7 separate regions of the Homo sapiens genome follow, and all the other regions are linked to region 1. Evidence: promoter capture Hi-C in 16 types of primary human blood cells and fetal thymus (Javierre and others, 2016). All regions are on one chromosome and are shown on one strand. The core of a region is centred on a gene start or on the middle of the fragment in contact, and the rest is flanking DNA. Distances in the headings are between cores, read along the strand shown.

Region 1 (2,751 bases), core at 78-2,577:
CATGCTGAGAGGATGGCTTCTCAAAGCCAGTTAGTGTACAAGCAGTGGAGGTTGGGACTGCCCTACTTCTCCTGCCTAGGGTCACACAGTCTGGCAGATCTGGAAAGACTTCCCTGAGAAAGTGACCTTGGAACTGATACCTTAGTGGAAATAACTAGGCATTGGGAGGGGGTGAGGTGAGGAGAAGGTCAAGAGCTTTCATGTAGAGGGAACTTTGTGCAGAGACCTTAGTCAGGAAGAGGTTTTGCATAGTGGAGGAACTGAAAGCTAACAGCCAGGCTACAGTACAGAGCAAATGATGCTGGGGTGTGAGGTGATGTCAAAAGGTAGACACCAGGGCTAGAGGGCGCATAATCTTGCAGGCCGTGCTAATGATTTTGTTTTCTACCCAAGAATGCTACTTCAGGAGATCAGTCAAAAGGTTAGGGTGATGGTGACGGTGGAAATATAGAAAAAGGAATTTATTCAAGAGGTATTCAAAAAGAAGTGAAATAGAGATGAGTTGGAGATAGATTGGATAAAAAGAGTGAGGGAGAGGGAGGTGTCAGGCTGCAGCCCAGGTTCTGAGTTGCCAAAGAGGAGTCTTTTCCTCCAGGTGAGCTAAGGCTTAGAACCACGATTTTTGGTCACTTTTTCTTATTTTCAGTGTGAGAAGTGGCGAGTTGGCTGTCCAGGTACACACTGTCATCTTACACTTACTGTTTAAGACAGAGGCGCATATTTGGAAAGTGAATGAGTCAGGAGCCAGAGGAGAAGGTATGCCGGCAGAGCCTAGGGCGGAGAGGAGGAAGAGAGTCTGGGGGCGCGTCCCCAAAAAGGAGACAGGGAAGACAGAGCAGAGGCCGGGGAGGGGAGAGCAAGGACCATGACAGGAGGAAAGAGAGGCTAGGGAACACTGAGGTGGAGGAATCCTGGGATATGACAGTTGTAAAGAATTGTAGCCAACCTAATCCAGTTCTCTCAATGTGCAACTGAGGAAATTAATTTTCATGCGTTTACTTTATTGTAAATGTGGTACTTGCACTTGAGAAATTTTGGAAAACATAAAGATGTAAAGCAAATTAAGATCACTCATAGTCTTTCCACCTAGAGACATGTACTGCTAAAGCAAGGACTTTGATCCTTTTTTCCCTTTGCATTTTTACCATGGTTGGAATTGTAACACAGACACAACCTTATGTCCTGCTTCCAAAACATAAATAATGGTTGTAAAGCGTCCCACACGTTGACCCAAAGTCTCCTTTGAAACAGGAAATTGAGACACGCCGGTTGTGAAACCTACTGAAGTGAGCGGCGGCGCCAGGATTCCTGGGACCCCGACCTCTTTGCAGCTCGCACAGCTAAGGGCGAGGGCGCCCTTCGGCAGAAGCAGCAAACCGCCGGCAAGCCCAGCGAGGAGGGCTGCCGGGGTCTGGGCTTGGGAATTGGCTGGCACCCAGCGGAAAGGGACGTGAGCTGAGCGGCGGGGGAGAAGAGTGCGCAGGTCAGAGGGCGGCGCGCAGCGGCGCTCCGCGAGGTCCCCACGCCGGGCGATATGGGGTGCCTGCTGTTTCTGCTGCTCTGGGCGCTCCTCCAGGCTTGGGGAAGCGCTGAAGGTGGGTGGAACGAGGGCGCTTGAGTGCACTCGCGGGAGGGCGGAGAGAGGGAGCTGGGTAGGGACGGGGAGGGCAACGCCTGATGGGGACTGGTGAGACCCGGGACGCACTGGCGCGATCTAGGTAGAAAACTCGCTGCTCCCTGGCTCCGGGGAGAGGCAGCGCGGCACAGAGTTCGCTGGCATCAGCCGCCTCCTGAAGCTCATCTCCTCTTGTTTCTTTCTTCCTTCTCTTTATGCTGGCTGCTCTCCCGGCCACTTGCTACACGCCTCCAATCTTCATTCTCTCCCAGTCCCGCAAAGGCTTTTCCCCCTCCGCTGCCTCCAGATCTCGTCCTTCGCCAATAGCAGCTGGACGCGCACCGACGGCTTGGCGTGGCTGGGGGAGCTGCAGACGCACAGCTGGAGCAACGACTCGGACACCGTCCGCTCTCTGAAGCCTTGGTCCCAGGGCACGTTCAGCGACCAGCAGTGGGAGACGCTGCAGCATATATTTCGGGTTTATCGAAGCAGCTTCACCAGGGACGTGAAGGAATTCGCCAAAATGCTACGCTTATCCTGTGAGCTGAGGGATAGGATCCTGGGCCGGTACCCAAGGGGAGAGAATGGCCACAGAAACTCAACTGGGAGACTGTGGCACCACCTGATGAGATTCTCTGCTCTGTCCACCCTCTTCTGATTTCCCTTCTACCTGGAGATGTCCCAGGCTTTGACTCCTCAAAGTGTCCCTCGTTCCTGCCTACTCCAGGTCACTTACTTTCCTTTCCCTGAAGTCTGGGTCCCCATTATAACCTGCACATCAATTTCTTCTCTTTCATCTCTCCCAGTCTTTTAAACCCTTCTTTGATCTTTCTCCATTCCTCTCCACAGATCCCTTGGAGCTCCAGGTGTCCGCTGGCTGTGAGGTGCACCCTGGGAACGCCTCAAATAACTTCTTCCATGTAGCATTTCAAGGAAAAGATATCCTGAGTTTCCAAGGAACTTCTTGGGAGCCAACCCAAGAGGCCCCACTTTGGGTAAACTTGGCCATTCAAGTGCTCAACCAGGACAAGTGGACGAGGGAAACAGTGCAGTGGCTCCTTAATGGCACCTGCCCCCAATTTGTCAGTGGCCTCCTTGAGTCAGGGAAGTCGGAACTGAAGAAGCAAGGTCAGCCT
Region 2 (2,751 bases), core at 97-2,596, 880 kb after region 1:
GGTGTCAGTAGTTATTCTTTTTATTGCAGAGTACAATTCAATTATGTGGATCTACCAAAGTTTGTTTATTCATTTTTCAGGTGAGGGATAATCGAGTTTTTTGCACTTTTGCATAATTACAAATAAACTTTCATGAATATTTACATGCAGATTTTTGTGTGAACATACATAATTATTTCAAGTGGATAAAAAACTTACAGCAAGCTTGCTGTGTCATGTGGTAAGCATATGTTTAAATTTATAAGAAATTTCCAAACTCTTTTCTAATGTGACTTTTCATTCCCACCAGCAATAAGTAAGAGTTTCAATTGCTCTGTATCCTTCTCAGACCTTAGCATTGTAGATGCATATTAAGTTTTTAAAAATGGACAAACTCTTTTGCATAAAGGTTATACCATTTGACATTCCCACCAGCAGTGCACAAGAGTTTCAGTTTTTCCAAATCTTTGTCAGCACTTGGTATGGGTAATCTATTTTAATTTAAATTTTAGCTGTTCTAATAAATATATAATGGCATCTCACTGTAGTTTTAGTTTCCATTTCCTTAAAGATGAATTATGTTGAGTGTATTTTTATGTGCTTATTTGACATCCATGTATCATCTTTTTGCCCATTTTAAACATTTAATTGGTTGTTCTGCAATTATTGAATTTTGAGTGTTCTTTATAAATTCTGGATACAGGATCTTTTTGTTTTTTGAGACAGAGTCTTACTCTATCACCCAGGCTGGAGTGCAATGGCGCAATCTCAGCTCACTGCAAACTCCGCCTCCTGGGTTCAAGTGATTCTCCTGCCTCAGCCTCCCGAGTAGCTGGGATTACAGGTGCCCACCACCGTGCCCGGCTATTTTTTTTTTTTTTTTTTTTTTTTTTAGTAGAGATGGGGTTTCACCATGTTGGCCAGGCTGGTCTCAAACTCCTGACCTCAGGTGATCCACCCGCCAGGGCCTCCCAAAGTGCTGGGATTACAGGTGTGAGCCACCGTGCCTGGCCTGGATACAGGGTCTTCAGCAGCTGTGTGACTAACAAATATTAAGCCCCAATCTATGGTTTGCCTTTCAATGCTCTTAATGGTACCTTTTGAAGAACAGAAGTTCTTCATTTTGATGAAGTTCAAATTATTAAGCATTTATGTTATGTAGATTGTGCTTTTGGTGTGATATCTAAATCTTTAATCTTTGCCTACACCAAGATCACACAGATTTTCTCCCATGTTTTCTTGTAGAAGTTTTATGGTTTTAGCTGTTTATGAAAAGCCAATGATCTGTTTGGAGTTTATTTTTGTATAAAGAGTGAGGAATGGCTCAGATTCATTTTTTTAAGTATGGATATCTAATTGTTGTTGTAGCTTTTTTTTTAGTCTTTTCTCCACTGAACTGTGTTGTACTTTTGTAGAAATCAATAGACTGTAAATGTGCAAGCCTAGTTTTGGCTCTCTAGTTTTCCATTGGGCTTTATGCTTATTCTTTCTCCAATAACACAAAATTGTGTTATTATTTCTATACCTTTTAAAATATTTCTAAATCATTGCCCTATGGGACAAAATATACATCTTTAATTATTCAGTATCTACTTTCAAATAATACTGCGCTGCTTCACATGTTGTACAGGATCTTCTAACAGTGTACTCCTAATTCTTCCCTCTTGTATTTTGTGCAATTGTTGTCATATAGTTTACTTTTAAATTTGTATAAACATCATATAATACATTGATAAAGTATTTTCGCTTGAGACAAGGGATTGACAAACTAAAGGAGATAGTGGGACTGTAATGAATGAGAAACAGATGTTTATTGTGATCATCTGTTGATATTCTGAATTTGTTTATCCAGCAATTATTCTATCCTAATTTGGTGGAGAGAGGAGCCTGTGAACTGCAGCTTTCAGGTAACTTACAATCTGATTGAAGAGGCTGTATCACATATTCTTCAATTAAATGCTGCTTAGACCAGTTGGCTTGAATTGGTCCTTTTTACTTCTCTATGTTTTTTTTTTGGCCTTAATAACCTGGATGGAGAAAAAAAACATGCAGTCTGAGATGCAGTCGATGAGTGGCCCCTCCACTGTTTGCAGTCACTATGGCCTTCTGAAGTGTATGTATCATCTTCTCATAAAATTATTTTGTTCCCACCCTTCTAATACATTGGTCTGCCTTGGATCATACTCCTGAAGTGAATATCTGACCTGAGAAATACACTCCCACTTAGCAAGGTCACATACGCATATTTCTCAAATCTTGGCCTCCACTCTTACAGAGATAGCAGGCAGTGCAACCAACACTGAGACCTGGGGAAGAGCACCAAGTAGTGGCAGGACACGGGTAGGAGGGTGTGGTGGAAGGTCAAGAGTAGGGGTTTACATGGACTTAACTGCACTGGACTATGGTAGGTGCAGACGTGGTGGGACTGGCTAGGGAAATGTGTCCTCAAAGTATTTATTGTCTGTCTACTTTCAAAGACATTAGTCAGAATGACTTTTCCGACTCTGGGCAAGCTTTCTGCTTTAGACTTGTAGTATAAATAAGGAGCTCTTTTTTGGGCTCTGTGGGCACAACAATATGCGCCTCTGCCTTGAAAAGCCCATGTTCTCTTAACTGTGTATCTAGAATACATGTTTCCTAAGAGGGAGGTTCCTCAGTTCTGTGAGATGAACGTGTACTAAATATCAATGTCTTCCACTCTATATCCTGTTCAATGGCTCCAGTCCGGCTTTCTGATAGAAAACAAAAAATATCACCCCCTTGGAGAGTTGA
Region 3 (2,751 bases), core at 98-2,597, 850 kb after region 1:
GTGTTGTTCCTGATGTACGTTATCTCATTCTTTCTTCATAACCATCAGGAGGATGCTAATTCTGCCCCAATTCACAGAGAAGAAAATAGAGGTACAGAAAGGTTAAAAATCTTCCTCAAGCTTTCAAAGAAAATTAGAGTCATGATTCATATCCAGTCTTATTTAAACCTAAAACGTGAAAAATTAATGATTATATATGGCTTTAGATTAGGAGTTTATATATGCCATGTCAGTAATTTATTTATTAGTCACGTAACAGTTACATAGCCCACGCTTTGCAAACCTTCTGATAACAAATGTGGCCAGTGGTGATCAGAGTGTGTTCTAATAAGTAAACCACCCTCCAGAAGTAGAATCCTTTCATTCGCCTCTCTAACAGAGTGCATTTTCTATATTAAATATCTGAATGACAGAAGTGGTAGAACTATGGAAATTAAACTAATATTAATAAATAACAAAAAAGGTTAAAAATAGTCAAAATAAAGGAAGTTATACTTCCTTGCCCTTGGTAAAGAGTATTTTTAAAAAATCACTTACTTGGTAATGCCAAGGTAAGTTCTTCAATATTTCTAAATACATTTGAGAACCTTGAAGGATTCTAGCTGGCTGATGCAGACTACAAAACAGCAGAATTCTGCATCTGGAATTGTGGATTTTAAAGAATCTTTCTAGCAAAGTGATGATCAAAACATCTAAAGCAACATAAGGCTGGGTTTCCTGGAGCCTGAAGAGCTGCAGGAAAGAGAAAGAGTAATTTAATCAAGTAAAATGTATGTGATTAAATTTCTCACTATTAATTAAGTATATTCATTGAGACCCTACTAGTCTCTGTGTCTTTTGATATTTACAAGGTATGCGTTCATGAAGTGCTTCCTGACTCAAGAGGATTACTGTCTTTTGTTGATCCAGGTGTAGAGAGAGATTGTGGGGAAGTAGCCAGATGGAGGAAGATGAATACAAGAATATGTTCATTATCTTTATTCCAATTACCTTTCATCCTTTCACTTCGTTCATGACCACATTCCAGGTTTTATTTTAAAATATCGATGGTCTTTTCCAAATGAGAAGCTTTGACATATAGATTGCTTCCTTTGCTGGGATCACTTTCTCCAGTCTCTTCTTGAACCCAACTCTCCACAGGCCCCAGCCTAAATCCCTTCCTAGAGCAAGTCCTCACTGGCAACCACGTTTCAGATTAGGTGAGATCCTCCCATAGTTGGTTCTCTCTGGTCCTCCCTTTGTGAGCTTTCCTAGCTCCCTTTATTTTTCCTAATAGCATTTAAACAATTGGGGTGTGGGAGTAATTTTCTCCTTTTATATACCATAAGCTCAGATGGTAGGTAGCGTCTACCCCAGAGGAACAGAATACAAGAGGGGAAAAAGTCAGTTCATGCTATGTGCATCAATTCTTATTCCAGATTACCTTTTGCTCAGCAGTGATATGACCCTTGTAGTCACCTGCACTGAGGGTTCGGAAGCCTGTACCTGTGGTGAAGGGGCAGGAAACTTGGAGGAAAAGCAGAAGGATTAAATCATTATTTTTTACAGTTGCTTCTTACCCAAGCCCCAAGCTGTATTCTGACCCAGCAGCAGATACCTCCAGCCACCATGTACACATCCTGGAAGAGAAGCTTCCTATATTTAAGGATTCTCTATTTTGATTTTTTTTTGGTTTGTTTTCATTGTTGTAATTTTTAGCTAGCTTCAGAAAGCTGTATTTCCCTCCATAGTTTATGCAGGTGTTATTTGAAGAACAGAACCTGTGTCTTTTTGCCATCTTGGCACAGGTGGCTGTGGAAGGAGCCCTTGCTCAGTCATTGCAACCTAAGATCCATTTTCTTTGTGCCTTTTCAGTGACTAAAGTGGCATCTCCAAACAACTATGCTTTTATCACTCATATTTCTTTGAAAGGATTATGTGAGAATTTCTAAGTCCCACCTGCTAAAATATGAATCACAACCCTTGCTACAGCTGTACAAATGATTGTGCTGTATGTGAACTTCCCTGGAGCACAGGAATCCCAGGAGGATTATATGCCTTCATGGCCTCATGCACCTAAACACACTACGCAGCCATTTATTCTTGGGTGTCCACTATCGTCTGTAAATACAGTTGTCTGTCTAACTACTTTCCTAGTGACTCGCAGGTGAGTATAGTCTTGTTCCACTGATCATAGGGTTTCCCAAAGATTTTCTCTATGGTATACGCTCTATATTCATTGAGATTTAAAACAAACAGGCTATTCTTATCATTGATTTTTTTTTTTCTGTTCTGTACACCTAAAGCAAGAAACATAAATTGACATGAATCAGGAGCAGGGATGGGAGGGGAGATAATTGCTCTAAGAAAAAAAATTACATAGTGATTTAAAATATTATTCAACCAAAGATTACATTTCTCTCATCTAAATTCTACTCTGGTTATGGGACTGTTTTACTTAAATGAATTTGAGAAGATAATACTCCAAGGTACTCTCGTGAATAAGTGGCAGAAATGAATAGAGAAGTCTCTTTAATAAAAAGCTTCCCATACCAACTCGATCTAGGGTTTCTGTCAACAAGGTAAACAGAATATGAGACGGCAGTTAATCAGAACACACATACAAATCCCTGCAGAGACAGTGTAACAACAGTGACATAAATCGGATTTCTACTTCGTAAGCACTTACTAGGTGCTGGTTTTAAAACCTGTATTCTTTATGTATATTGTTGCATTCTTTCCTCATAACAGTCATGATTGATGCTATTCTCA
Region 4 (2,751 bases), core at 117-2,616, 800 kb after region 1:
GCAAAAGGAGGTAGTTTGACTTCCTTTCTTTCTATTTGGACGTCTTTTATTTTTTTTTCTCTTGCCTGACTGCTCTGGCTAGAACTTCCAGTGCTATGTTGAACCAGGAGTAGTGAGAGTAGGCAACTTTGTCTTGTTCTGGTTCTCAAGAGGTATGATTTCAGCTTTTGCCTATTTGTGATATGATGTTGGCTGTGGTTTTGTCATAGATGTCTCATTTTGAGGTATGTTCCTTTGATACCTAGTTTGTTGAGGGTTTTTAACATGAAAGAATGTTGAATTTATTGAAACCTTTTCTGCATCTATTTAGATAATCACGTGATTTTTGTTTTTAGTTCTGTTTATGTGATAAATCACATTTACCAATTTGCGTATGTTGAACCAACTTTGCATTCCAGGGGTAAAGCTTACTTGATCATGGTGGCTTAGCTTTTGCTGTGCTGCTGGATTTAGTTTGCTAGTATTTTTTTTTGAGGACTTTTGCATCAATATTTATCAGGCATATTGTCCTGAATTTGTTTTTCCTTTGTGTTTCTGTCAGGTTTTGGTATCAGAATAATGCTGACCTCATAGAATGATTCAGGGCAGAGTCTCCGCTCCTCAATATTTTGGAATAATTTTGGTAGGATTGGTATCAGCTCCTCCTTATCTATCAGGTAGAATTCAGATGTGAATCTGTCTGATCCATGGCTTTTGTTGGTTTGTAGGTATTTTATTATGGATTCAATTTCAGAACTTGTTATTGATCTGTTTAGGTATTCAATGTCTTCCTGGTTCAATCTTGGCAGGTTGTATGTTTTCAGGAATTTATCTGTTTCTTCTAGATTTTCTAGTTTTTCAGCATAGAAATTGTTCATAATGGTCTTTGAGAGTTTTTGTATTTCTGTGGGTTCCATGGTAATGTCCCCTTTGTCATTTCTAATTGTATTTATTTGGATCTTCTCCTGTTTTTTTTTTTTTTTTTGTATATTAATCTGGCTAGTGGTCTATATATCTTATTCTTTCAAAAAACCAATTTTTAGTTTTCTTAATTATTTTTGTGAATTTTCACATCTCAATTTTATTTGGTTCAACTTAGATTTTGATTATTATTTTTCTTCTGCTAGTTTGGGGGTTGGTTTCCTTTTGTTTTTTCTAGTTCCTGTAAATGTGATGTTAGGTATAAATTTAAGATATTTCTGACTTTTTGATGTAGGCCTTTAGTGCTATAAACTTTTCTCTTAACACTGCTTTAGCTGTGTCCCAGAGACTCTGATATATTGTATTTTTGTTTTCATTAGTTTCAAAGATTTCTTGATTTCTGCATTAATTTAATTTATTACCCAAAAGTCATTCAGGAGTAAGTTGTTTAATTTCCAAATACTTCTATGATTTTCAGAGATCTTCTTGGTATTGATTTGTATTTTTGTTGCACTGTGATCTGAGAGTGTGGTTGATATAATTTCTGTTTTTTGAATTTCCTGAGCATTGCTTTATGGCCAAGCATGTGGCCAAGCATGTGGCACAGAGTATGTGCCATGTGCAGATGAGAAGAATGTATATTCTGTTGTTGAGTGGAATGTTCCTTATATGTCTGTTAGGTCAATTTAGTCAAGTGTGAAATTTTGTTCCTGAATATCTTTGTTAGTTTTCTCCCTCAATGATTTATCTAACAATGTTAGTAGGGTGTTGTATTCTCCCACTATTATTGTGAGGTTAGCTAGTTCTCTTCATAGGTCTCTAAGAACTTGTTTTATGAATCTGGTTGTGCCAGTGCTGAATGCACACATCTTTAGGATAGTTAAGTCTTGTTTGTAGAATTGAACTTTTTATCATTATGTGATGCCCTTCTTCATCCTCTTTGATAGCTTTTGGTTTAAGGTCTGTTTTTTTTTTCCTGAAATAAAAGAGCAACCCCTGCTCTATTTTGTTTGTTTTCCATTTGCTTTATAGATATTCCTCCATCCATTTAATTTAAGCCTGTGTCTTTACATGTAAGGTGGGTCTCTTGAAGACAGCATGTAATTGAGTCTTGCTTCTTTATCCAACTTACCATTCTGTGCCTTTTAAGTGGAGTGGTTAGCCTGCTTATGTTCAAGGTTAATATTGATATGTAAGGATTTGATCCTGTCATAGTGTTATTAGCTGGTTGTTATGTAGACTTGATTGTATAGTTGCATATTGTGTCAGTGGAATATTTACTTAAGTGTGTTGTTTTGTGGCAGGTAGCAGCCTTTTGTTTCCATGTTCAGCACTCCCTGAAGGACCTCTTATAAGGCAGGCCTAATGGTAACAAATTCGCTTAGTGTTTGTTTGTCTGAAAAGGATTATGTTTCTTTTTCACTTACAAAGCTTGGTTCGGCTGGATATGAAATCATGGTTAGAATTTCTTTTGTTTAAGAATGCTGAATGTAGGCCTTTAATCTTTTCTGGCTTGAAAAATTTCTGCTGAAAGGTCCACTGTTAGTGTGATAAGGGTTCCCTTTGTACATGATCTGCCTCTTCTCTTTTGCTGCCTTTCATATGTTTTATTTACCTTGATCTTGGAGAATTGGATAACTATGTGTCTTAGGGATTGTCATCTTGTGTAATATCTTGCTGGGGTACTCTGAATTTCCTGAATTTACATGTCAACCTCTCTAGCAAGGTCAGGTAAATTTTCAGGGACAATATCTTCAAATATGTTCTCCAAGTTGCTTGGTCTCTCTCCCTCTCTTTCTGTGATGCAAATCAGTTGTAGGTTTGGTCTCTTTACATAAACTCATATTTCTT
Region 5 (2,751 bases), core at 1-2,500, 760 kb after region 1:
CACCATATCTCACCTCACAAACCTATTTAACATCTCCTTTCACTAGTTTCTGTAATTTAAATAGATTATCTGGAGAATATGACTAAGCAGTCAGCATCATGAGAACCTTACATTTTAAAAGGAAATGATAGAATAGGATTGGGAAAGGGTTTGACTGAGCACATGGAGTTCAGAGGACAGGAAGGATGTTCTCACTGCACAGGGGAGGAGTGATGAAAGCACTGAGGAGTGTGAGTCAGTGTTTGTGCCTTTGTTTCTCCTGCTGGCCTCCTGGAAGCCAGACTAGGCTAATGCAATAGAGATAGACTAAAATACACCTGAACCCTCAAGCAGGAGCTAAGAGCAAATAGTATTGAAACTGCTTCGGGTGTCCCCGATCATCTGCTCTGGGTTTATACATCTTCCTTTTTTCTGCATTAGTTGCAAATAAAATTGAATCCATTCCAGTCAAAGGAATAATCCCATCTAAAAAGACGAAACAGAAAGAAGTGTATCCTGCTACACCTGCATGCACCCCAAGCAACCGTCTCACAGCTAAAGGAGCAGAGGAGACTCTTGGACCTCAGGTAAGCTTCAGGAAGAGGAGCAGGCTTCAAGTCTCACAGTGGAAGCTCTGCTGTGGCTGTTCCACTCAATCTGTCCAGCAGGCAGTTATTTCTTCATATGTTTCCCATCAAGTTTCAGATTTATCAAATTACATAATAATTGATCATCTTTCTGCAAGGCAACAAGTTAAACGCTTTAGTAAACATAATGTAAATATACATAAAATAAATATAATATTTTCATCTCCAATAGAGAAGGATGTTAACTTGAGAGTCAGATAAAAAAACGTTTGCCTATGTTTACAAAAGCCTAGTTTCTTAACTGCAAGTCAGCATATCCCAAAACACAAGTAATTAAGGAATGATGTGTGTTACTTTCTCTGCTCCCTTTTTAAAAATGAAACCATCTATGCCATGTTCTTTCAATTGGCCTGGGGATGTACTTAAGTTTCCAAGAAAAACAATTTATATACAATAAATATATTACCTTGTAATGAAAATGTGCTCTGCTTCATTTGACACTGAAAGTAATTAACAAGAAAAATAAACTACTTGTAGAAAAGAAAAAAACCATCTGAAGAAGAGACTGGAACCAAAAGGAGTAAGATGTCCAAAGAGCAGACTCGGCCTTCCTGCTCTGCAGGAGCCAGCACGTCCACAGCCATGGGCCGTTCCCCACCTCCCCAGACCTCATCATCAGCTCCACCCAACACTTCCTCAACTGAGGTACACTCTTCCTGGTCCCCTTTTGATTCATTTTCTTCAACCCAAAATGTAGGAATCTGATTTCATCTTCTACTGAAAAATGACATCAATCATCAGCCAGTAAATCAAATGTATAGACTGAGAATTCACTGCATTTTAATCTTTTGCTTCCACAGGCATATTTGATGAACTTGACATTATCTCTGACTGCAGGAAGTTTTCTGTCCTGTGCTGTTTGGGGAAGAGACAGAGAACTGCGGAATCTGGAACTTTCAGCAACAGACTCACTGTCTACTGCCCCCATCTATTATACACCCATTCCCTTTGCTCACTAATTTGTTCAAGTTTCTCTGACATACACCATGCTCCTTTTTCCTTTAGGATTTTCACACACCATATTTCTTTCACCTTTAAACTCTTACCTGGCCAACCCTATCCACCCTCTGGATCCCAATATTGAGATCTTATCCTCAGGGAATCCTCACTTAGACCCCTGTAACAGGTTAAATCTTCATGGTGTTCTGTTTCCTAGGAACTTCTTTCTTTTCTACTGTTTATGACAACTGAAGTTAATAAGTGTTTATCTTTCCCACCTACTCAAAGTAGTTCCAAGATTAGGGCTAGTTTGTAATTCTGTGGACCACTGTAAACGAGGGCCTAGTTCAGTGTCTGCCTCATGGGAAGCTTCCAATAAATACCTTTGCTCAACGAAAAAATGAAAACCCAGTGGCTCACGCCTGTAATCCCAGCACTTTGGGAGGCCGAGGCAGGTGGATTGCCTGAGGTCAGGAGTTTGAGACTAGTCTGGCCAACATGGTGAAACACTATCTCTACTAAAAATACAAAAAAATTAGCTGGGTATGGTGGCTTACGCCTATAATCCCAGCTACTCAGGAGGCTGAGGCAGGGGAATTGCTTGAACCAGGGAGGTGGAGGTTGCAGTGAGCTGAGATCGCACCACTGCACTCCAGCCTGGGTGACAGAGCGAGACTCCATCTCAAAATAAAAAAGTAAAAAAAAAAAAAAAAAAGGAAACCATATTCTAAGATATGAACCACTACAGCTAAGCAAATGACAAATAAAGGTCATCTGACTCAGTCAAAGATACCTATTGTGAGGCCAAAAGGTTGTAAAAACAAAGGGAAGTGATGGAATAGGGAAGAGAGCTCAGGAGTTTGGGAAAATGTAGGCAGGCAGAAGACGATACACCAAGACTTACAAATGAAAGAAAGTAAATTACAATTAATAATTGCATGATTCTGATAATCCTTATAATGCTGTACTCATCTCAAATTTGGACAGGTCAGCCTTACTATATGCATGTATCAGCAATAGTCTAAAAACTAATTGAAACTCTAATGAGCTTTATTATTAAAAAAATGTTCTATATTTCTGATACACAATAAAGGGGATCAATTATGAAGGGCAACAAGTGATGAAACCACACCACCAACCTTAATTTGCTCTATTCCCTTTTTTCTTACATTTGATTTTGTATTAA
Region 6 (2,751 bases), core at 92-2,591, 650 kb after region 1:
ACTTTGTAGTGCACCCACTGTTCTTCACAGGAAAAAAAAATTGCAGTACAAAGGGTTTATCAGGCCCCCTATCATTCCAGAGTTTCAGTGCTGTTCCAGAATGTTCAAGGTTTCAGTCATGATATGAACCAACTATCCATAAATAATGCAAAAAGCATGAGTAATCATGAATTTAATAATCAAGGTAAGGCAGCTCAGTTATTATACTCAAGAGAGCAACTAGTATGAAACTCTTTCAAATTATTTGAATAAGGATTTACATATTCATAATGACTTTCTGCCTCTGTCAAGCTCCAGGTGTATCAGTTATTAATAACTGGGTGAATATGTAGGTACTATTTAAACAAAAACAATTTCACAGTAGACCCACCCCTATCCAAGAGATGAAGTCAAGTTCTGGTAGCAATAGACATCTCTACCAAGATCTCCTGCTCCTGCCACTCTGTGAACAGGAAAGGAGGGAGAAACTTTGGTGTTTTGCCTTTCCCAATTTATATTAAGATCCTTATTCAAGCGGCTACCGGTTTCTAATGACCTATATGTAAGTTAGCTTTATAAGAAAGTTCTGAGTTTGAAACTCCTTTCAGCAAGTATTTGTAAGTCAAAAAAGCGAAGAAGAGGCACCATTTACTGTCATTTCTCCTTGTGACTGAGATTACTTACTACAAAGAGGAACTGACCACTTTCTCTGACATCTGAAATAGAAAGCTACAAAGGCTGATAGGCGTGGCTTCAAAATTGTTTCATGATTACATAACTTCTTTCTAGTTAGGAATTAGGACAGTGTAAGAAGGCCATCTACAATCAAGATTGAGAGTGGCTCTAACAAGTGCCATTTTTCCTTGTTAGCTTTCATTTCTCAGCCCTTTACAAGATTAAAATAGTCTGCAGTTTAATCTCTCCAAAGCTTTACGGACAGTGATTCTGTCCTAAACAAGACAGTGACTCCAGGATTTCTGAAGACTATTGTGGAAGAAGCATCCATTAAGGTGAGATTTCTGGGAAGTTCTTTAGAGAAAGATCTAGGTATCTAGTTGGTAACCACACCATCTCAGTAGAGAATAATTGCCTGAGACCAGAAGTGTTGTTATCAATCATATTCAGAAAACTGAGAACTGAATGCTTTAACTGTCTAGGTAGCAAATGGATATCTTTTATTCTACCACAATTGGGGTATGAACCAAAAAAATGTATTTTGTCTACAGCAGGTTTTAAAAATTAATTCTTGGGTGTCTTTTGGCATAAATTGATATTTAGAGGAGATACTTGGTTTTCTTGGCTGGAGGATGACTTGGTGACTGGGTTTGGGCCTAAGTTAAAAGACAAGACAGTCAGATAAGAAAATTATTATGAAGTAATATTTAGTAAAAAATAAACCAGGATATAAATCTCTATTATATGATTTTATCTCTATTTTAAAAAGCATAGACATGTGCACACATTAATTTCTCAATTTTACAAGCATTTACTCAAAAATAATCTTTACATTTTCATGAATCAGTTTCATTTTATGCTTCATTTTACAACAAGTGTAAGAAGAAATAATTCTCTTTTTCAAATGGTCTATGCTTTACTCAGTCATAGATAACATTTTTTGTGGCAAGGTATAATGAAAAGACAGGGAGAATCAATTATATATTTCCTACTTTGGGATACATTTTGACTTTTTTATGGCTTTGTACATATGAATGTTTTCTAATTACTCCATGAGTACTTGAGAAGAGTTTATAAACGTTGGATTCCAAATTCTATTTAAGTAAGATAAAGTTTCTTAAGTAAGCTTGTTAATTATGTTTGAAAAATCTAAATCTAAATCTAAGCTATTTTTTACCTTGTTCTTTCAGTAACTGAGAGATGTGGTGAAATCTCCAACTCTAATAGTGATTTTGTTAATTTCTCATTGTAGTTCTTTTGATTTCTACCATATATTTTTACATAGAATATGTATATCTAAGTATATATGTTATGTGTGTGTTTAGAGAGAAGAAAAAACTTCTATATGCTACTTTATAAAGTAATAACAGATTATATTTATAATATAATTTAAATTATTATATCTTTTTCCAAGTTGCATACTTTACCATTATGTAGTGAAACTATGTACTGATACTTATTGACTTAAGCCTATTTTAAGCTACACTATTTTTCCTAAAAAGTCTTTCTTTAAGTTAGAGTTTGAAGAATATAACTTTTCCAGCTCTTTCTCAAACTTAAGTGAACTTATGCTTTATTTGTACTTTGTCAACAACATATGACTGGATTTATTTTTAATCCAAATTGAAAATTTTTCCTCCTAGTTGATGAGTTTAGTCCAGATATGCAAATTCTATAAAGGTATATATTTTAACTTGGTTTTGCCATCTTACTTTGTTTCAATTTATAGCACTTATTCTGTGCTTTCTTCTTCTCCTTTCTTGTCAAGTTTCTTATTTTTAAAAAATCTATATTCTCCTTAAAGACAAGCCCCTTAGCAAACTCTCACATCTTCTGGTCCCCCAAACATACAACTTCACCTGTTAAGAGTATGTTCATATAGTTCCTGTTTTCTTTTATTTGACTCTGGCTTTACTTATTTTTAAGATAGTAAAAACACTAATTAAAGTATTTGCTTGATCTTTCTTCCCTTTTGGCCTCCAACATTTCTTAGATTTATTTCTTTTCATAATGAGTAGTTCTTCACAAAGAGCTGTGGGTATGGATATTTTCACTGCCAAGCTTCTGAAAGCTTTGAATATAATAATTGTTTTCTTT
Region 7 (2,751 bases), core at 154-2,653, 580 kb before region 1:
ATTAATTTTTTAGTATGGGGCTGCTGCTGATTCCTCTTCTCTTGACTCAGAACACTTATTATCATAGCTAATTTGGAACTCAAAATGAGACAGACAGTAGAGGGTAGTAGTTAAAAGCCTAGTTTCCAAAGTTAGATTATGGGTTCGAATCCTGACTCTGCCACTGTACTAGCTGCATAAACCTCAGGGACAAGACCAACATCTTTGTGCCTTCATTTCCTCATTTGTAAATGGGAGTTATAAAAGTTCCACCTGATCAAATGTTAGAGAATTGGATACATTTATACATGGGGTGCCCTTAGAAAAGTGGGATGTAGCCAGGGCTTAGCACAAATTAACTGACATCCTCACACATTATCCTGTAACTATTTGTGTAATATTTTTCTCATATTGTCGAGTCAGATGTTCTTGCATGTGTACGTTGAGGTTCTATTGAGAATGTCACCTCTTGAGGGCAGAATCTGTGTCCTTCAGGTCTCTGCATCCTCTGTGGTGCCCAGCAGTGTGGCATGCCAAGTATACCCATCCACTCACTCCTTAGTTCCTATCATGTGCCAATCACACTAATAGGTCTTCCCTTAGTTGGGGTCTGGGGATCAGGTGGGAACTAGACAAATACGCTTAATAAATATTTAATGAACAAAAGACTGACTGTTCTTTAATTCCCTAGTTTGAGCAACTAGGAAATCCGTGCCTCATTTGGACAAACACTGACAAGTGGTACAAAAGCAGGAAGAAAAAAATCAAAGGGAAATCATCTTATCTCTTCTCTTCTCATGCTCTTTGCAAACATCAGAACAGGTTTGAACTTAGAATACAGAGAAGGAAATAACTATTCTCAGCAGGTGATCCTTTCTACCTGAGTTCACAATCAGGACTTTATCCTTCACAAATAACTCAGTCCATCTTTTCCTCTGGGTCCTCATGCTCTGTGACGTAGGGACTGAACCTAGCCATAGGTTTCTTTTTGCATAAACAAAATAAGTCCATTTGGGGGTAAAATGATTTTCCATAGGCAATTCATAGCAAAAATAGATGAGAAATACATCTTTGGAAATCAATTATTATCATTTTCCCCTTCTACCAGTAAATCATTATCTTTCCTTTTTGTTCATTTTCTGCTGTTCTAAAATGGGAGTAAAAATCCATGATTGCAGCAGCAGAAAAGAGGGCTTTTGCTCATGGTGAGGCTCAGCTTTGCAGCAAGCAAAGGTCTCCTCCCCATCACTTACCAAAGGCCAGCAAGGACGCCCACAGCAGCATGGAAGCCTGCTCCAGGATTGGAGAAGGAGTTCTGAGGAGACAAGCCAGGTCAGCCCAGATTGCCAAAGCAGCACTTGCCTACACCAGCACCAGCAGTGAGCTCAGTAAGCTTCTTCTCTGCATAAAGCTGATTGAGATAATGAAGTGAAAGGGGGAAGTAGAGGAATCTTTCTGAAAACACCAAACAGCAATGTGGACCAGTGTGAGAGAATCCAGACCACAAAAATCAAAATTTAATAGAATTAAGTACTGCTGTGACATCCTGGGGTGAATCACTTCTCAAGGCTAAAGCTACTCTAGTTTCAGAACTCTCTAGGCTCTGTCTTTCAAGGAAATCACAACCTATTCTCTCTGCTACTAGAGATGAGGTGAGATTGCAGGCCTATTGAAATCCACATAATCTAAGGATGTCCCTGAATATCCCCAGAGATGAAGAATTTCTCATTCAACACAGAAAAGGCCTCCTCTGACCGCTGATACCTCTACTGGAACACCTCCAGCAGGCCGTCTGTAGACCTGATGAAACATCTCAATCACAAGACAACTCTCACCTTGTCTGATATATATGAAAATATCCTGACTCATCAGTCCAGGGGGAAACCACAACTTTTGATCTGAGTAGAAGGCAAGCTGAGGAGTAAATTATAGCCCCATCATGCTCTTCCTAGATAATAGGCCATAACATTTTTACTTAATGTCCTAGAATCCAAAATTTGCTACAGGAATGTCTTGGCAAATATATATTGATTGAAATACATATGCCTGGTATCTGGTGGCAGAGAGAAGAAGTTGTGATTTCCTTGAAAGACAAGAGGCTAGAGAGTTCTGAAAATATGATGGCTTTAGCCTTGAGAAGCGATTCACGTCAGGAAGTCAGAGTGGGTATTTAAATAATTCTATTAAATTTTGATTTTTGCCATTTGGATTCTTTCACACTGGGCAACATGCTGTTTGGTGTTTTGAGAAACACCTAATGCTCTCCCTACCCATAACAAACCTGCACACTCTGCTCATGTATCCCAGAACTTAAAAAAAAAATTAAGAAAAAAATGGAAAAATCCGTAGTGACGTTTTTTGGTACGTATAATATTTTGGTATGTATAACTCTTTAAAACTTTTTTATGCTATTATCTTGTGTATATGTATGTGTATATATATATATATATATATATATATATATATATATATATATAAAATGTTAATGGCAAAAAAAAAGAAACACCATGGTGCTTCAGGTATGGTGCCAGGTGCTGGAAGTACAGTGTTAATCAAGACTTGGAAAGCTTTCATTCTGGTGGAGAAGACAGCAAGTCAACAGGAAATTACATAGAAGTGAATTGTATGTAATTTCTGAGAGTCCACTAAGAGGGAAATCTGACCCAGTTCTGGGGATGCATAAGAGGCTTCCCTGAGGAAGTAACATCCAAGCTGAAAGAATATCATTCTAGGACTGAGAGATGAGCATGCACTAAGATGGAAGGCAGTTAT

The links. Contacts are between HindIII fragments. The CHiCAGO score rates a contact against its expected background, and 5 or more counts as called.
Region 2: a contact is called between a fragment that was not itself captured here and the fragment with the promoter of CD1D in region 1, in 4 of 17 cell types (naive CD8 T cells, neutrophils, naive CD4 T cells and 1 more). The highest score is 7.2, in naive CD8 T cells.
Region 3: a contact is called between a fragment that was not itself captured here and the fragment with the promoter of CD1D in region 1, in 5 of 17 cell types (fetal thymus, naive CD8 T cells, total CD4 T cells and 2 more). The highest score is 10.6, in fetal thymus.
Region 4: a contact is called between a fragment that was not itself captured here and the fragment with the promoter of CD1D in region 1, in 6 of 17 cell types (endothelial precursors, neutrophils, naive CD4 T cells and 3 more). The highest score is 8.9, in endothelial precursors.
Region 5: a fragment that was not itself captured here is called in contact with the fragment with the promoter of CD1D in region 1 in 1 of 17 cell types (neutrophils); the score reaches 6.1 in neutrophils.
Region 6: a contact is called between a fragment that was not itself captured here and the fragment with the promoter of CD1D in region 1, in 2 of 17 cell types (naive CD4 T cells and monocytes). The highest score is 5.5, in naive CD4 T cells.
Region 7: the fragment with the promoter of FCRL4 here is called in contact with the fragment with the promoter of CD1D in region 1 in 1 of 17 cell types (total B cells); the score reaches 7.3 in total B cells.

Annotation. Positions count from the first base shown.
Region 1 is chr1:158,179,568-158,182,318 of GRCh38, forward strand. CD1D (CD1d molecule) reads left to right here and starts at 1,328. Exons shown (of 6, transcript NM_001371762.2): 1 at 1,328-1,595; 2 at 1,888-2,154; 3 at 2,465-2,743. The coding sequence starts at 1,535. RefSeq lists a silencer at 337-386 and an enhancer at 1,799-1,858. The HindIII fragment of the contact is 7,344 bases long and covers 1-2,751 here.
Region 2 is chr1:159,060,713-159,063,463 of GRCh38, forward strand. It overlaps AIM2 (absent in melanoma 2), which reads right to left. Exons shown (of 6, transcript NM_004833.3): 6 at 1,772-2,006. The coding sequence ends at 1,980. Among named protein-coding and RNA genes, the nearest start is that of AIM2, 15 kb to the right of the region's middle. The HindIII fragment of the contact is 2,288 bases long and covers 203-2,490 here.
Region 3 is chr1:159,033,501-159,036,251 of GRCh38, forward strand. The region is part of intron 7 of IFI16 (interferon gamma inducible protein 16); the gene reads left to right. Among named protein-coding and RNA genes, the nearest start is that of IFI16, 25 kb to the left of the region's middle. The HindIII fragment of the contact is 563 bases long and covers 1,067-1,629 here.
Region 4 is chr1:158,983,082-158,985,832 of GRCh38, forward strand. It overlaps a transcript of PYHIN1 not described here. Among named protein-coding and RNA genes, the nearest start is that of PYDC5, 18 kb to the right of the region's middle. The HindIII fragment of the contact is 1,925 bases long and covers 405-2,329 here.
Region 5 is chr1:158,937,977-158,940,727 of GRCh38, forward strand. It overlaps PYHIN1 (pyrin and HIN domain family member 1), which reads left to right. Exons shown (of 9, transcript NM_152501.5): 3 at 421-566; 4 at 1,104-1,271. Among named protein-coding and RNA genes, the nearest start is that of PYHIN1, 7.8 kb to the left of the region's middle. RefSeq lists an enhancer at 321-1,520. The HindIII fragment of the contact is 1,363 bases long and covers 570-1,932 here.
Region 6 is chr1:158,830,569-158,833,319 of GRCh38, forward strand. MNDA (myeloid cell nuclear differentiation antigen) reads left to right here and starts at 783. Exons shown (of 7, transcript NM_002432.3): 1 at 783-989. It also overlaps a transcript of OR6N1 not described here. The HindIII fragment of the contact is 873 bases long and covers 906-1,778 here.
Region 7 is chr1:157,596,682-157,599,432 of GRCh38, forward strand. It overlaps FCRL4 (Fc receptor like 4), which reads right to left and starts at 1,404. Exons shown (of 12, transcript NM_031282.3): 1 at 1,233-1,404. The coding sequence starts at 1,263. The HindIII fragment of the contact is 1,174 bases long and covers 1,371-2,544 here.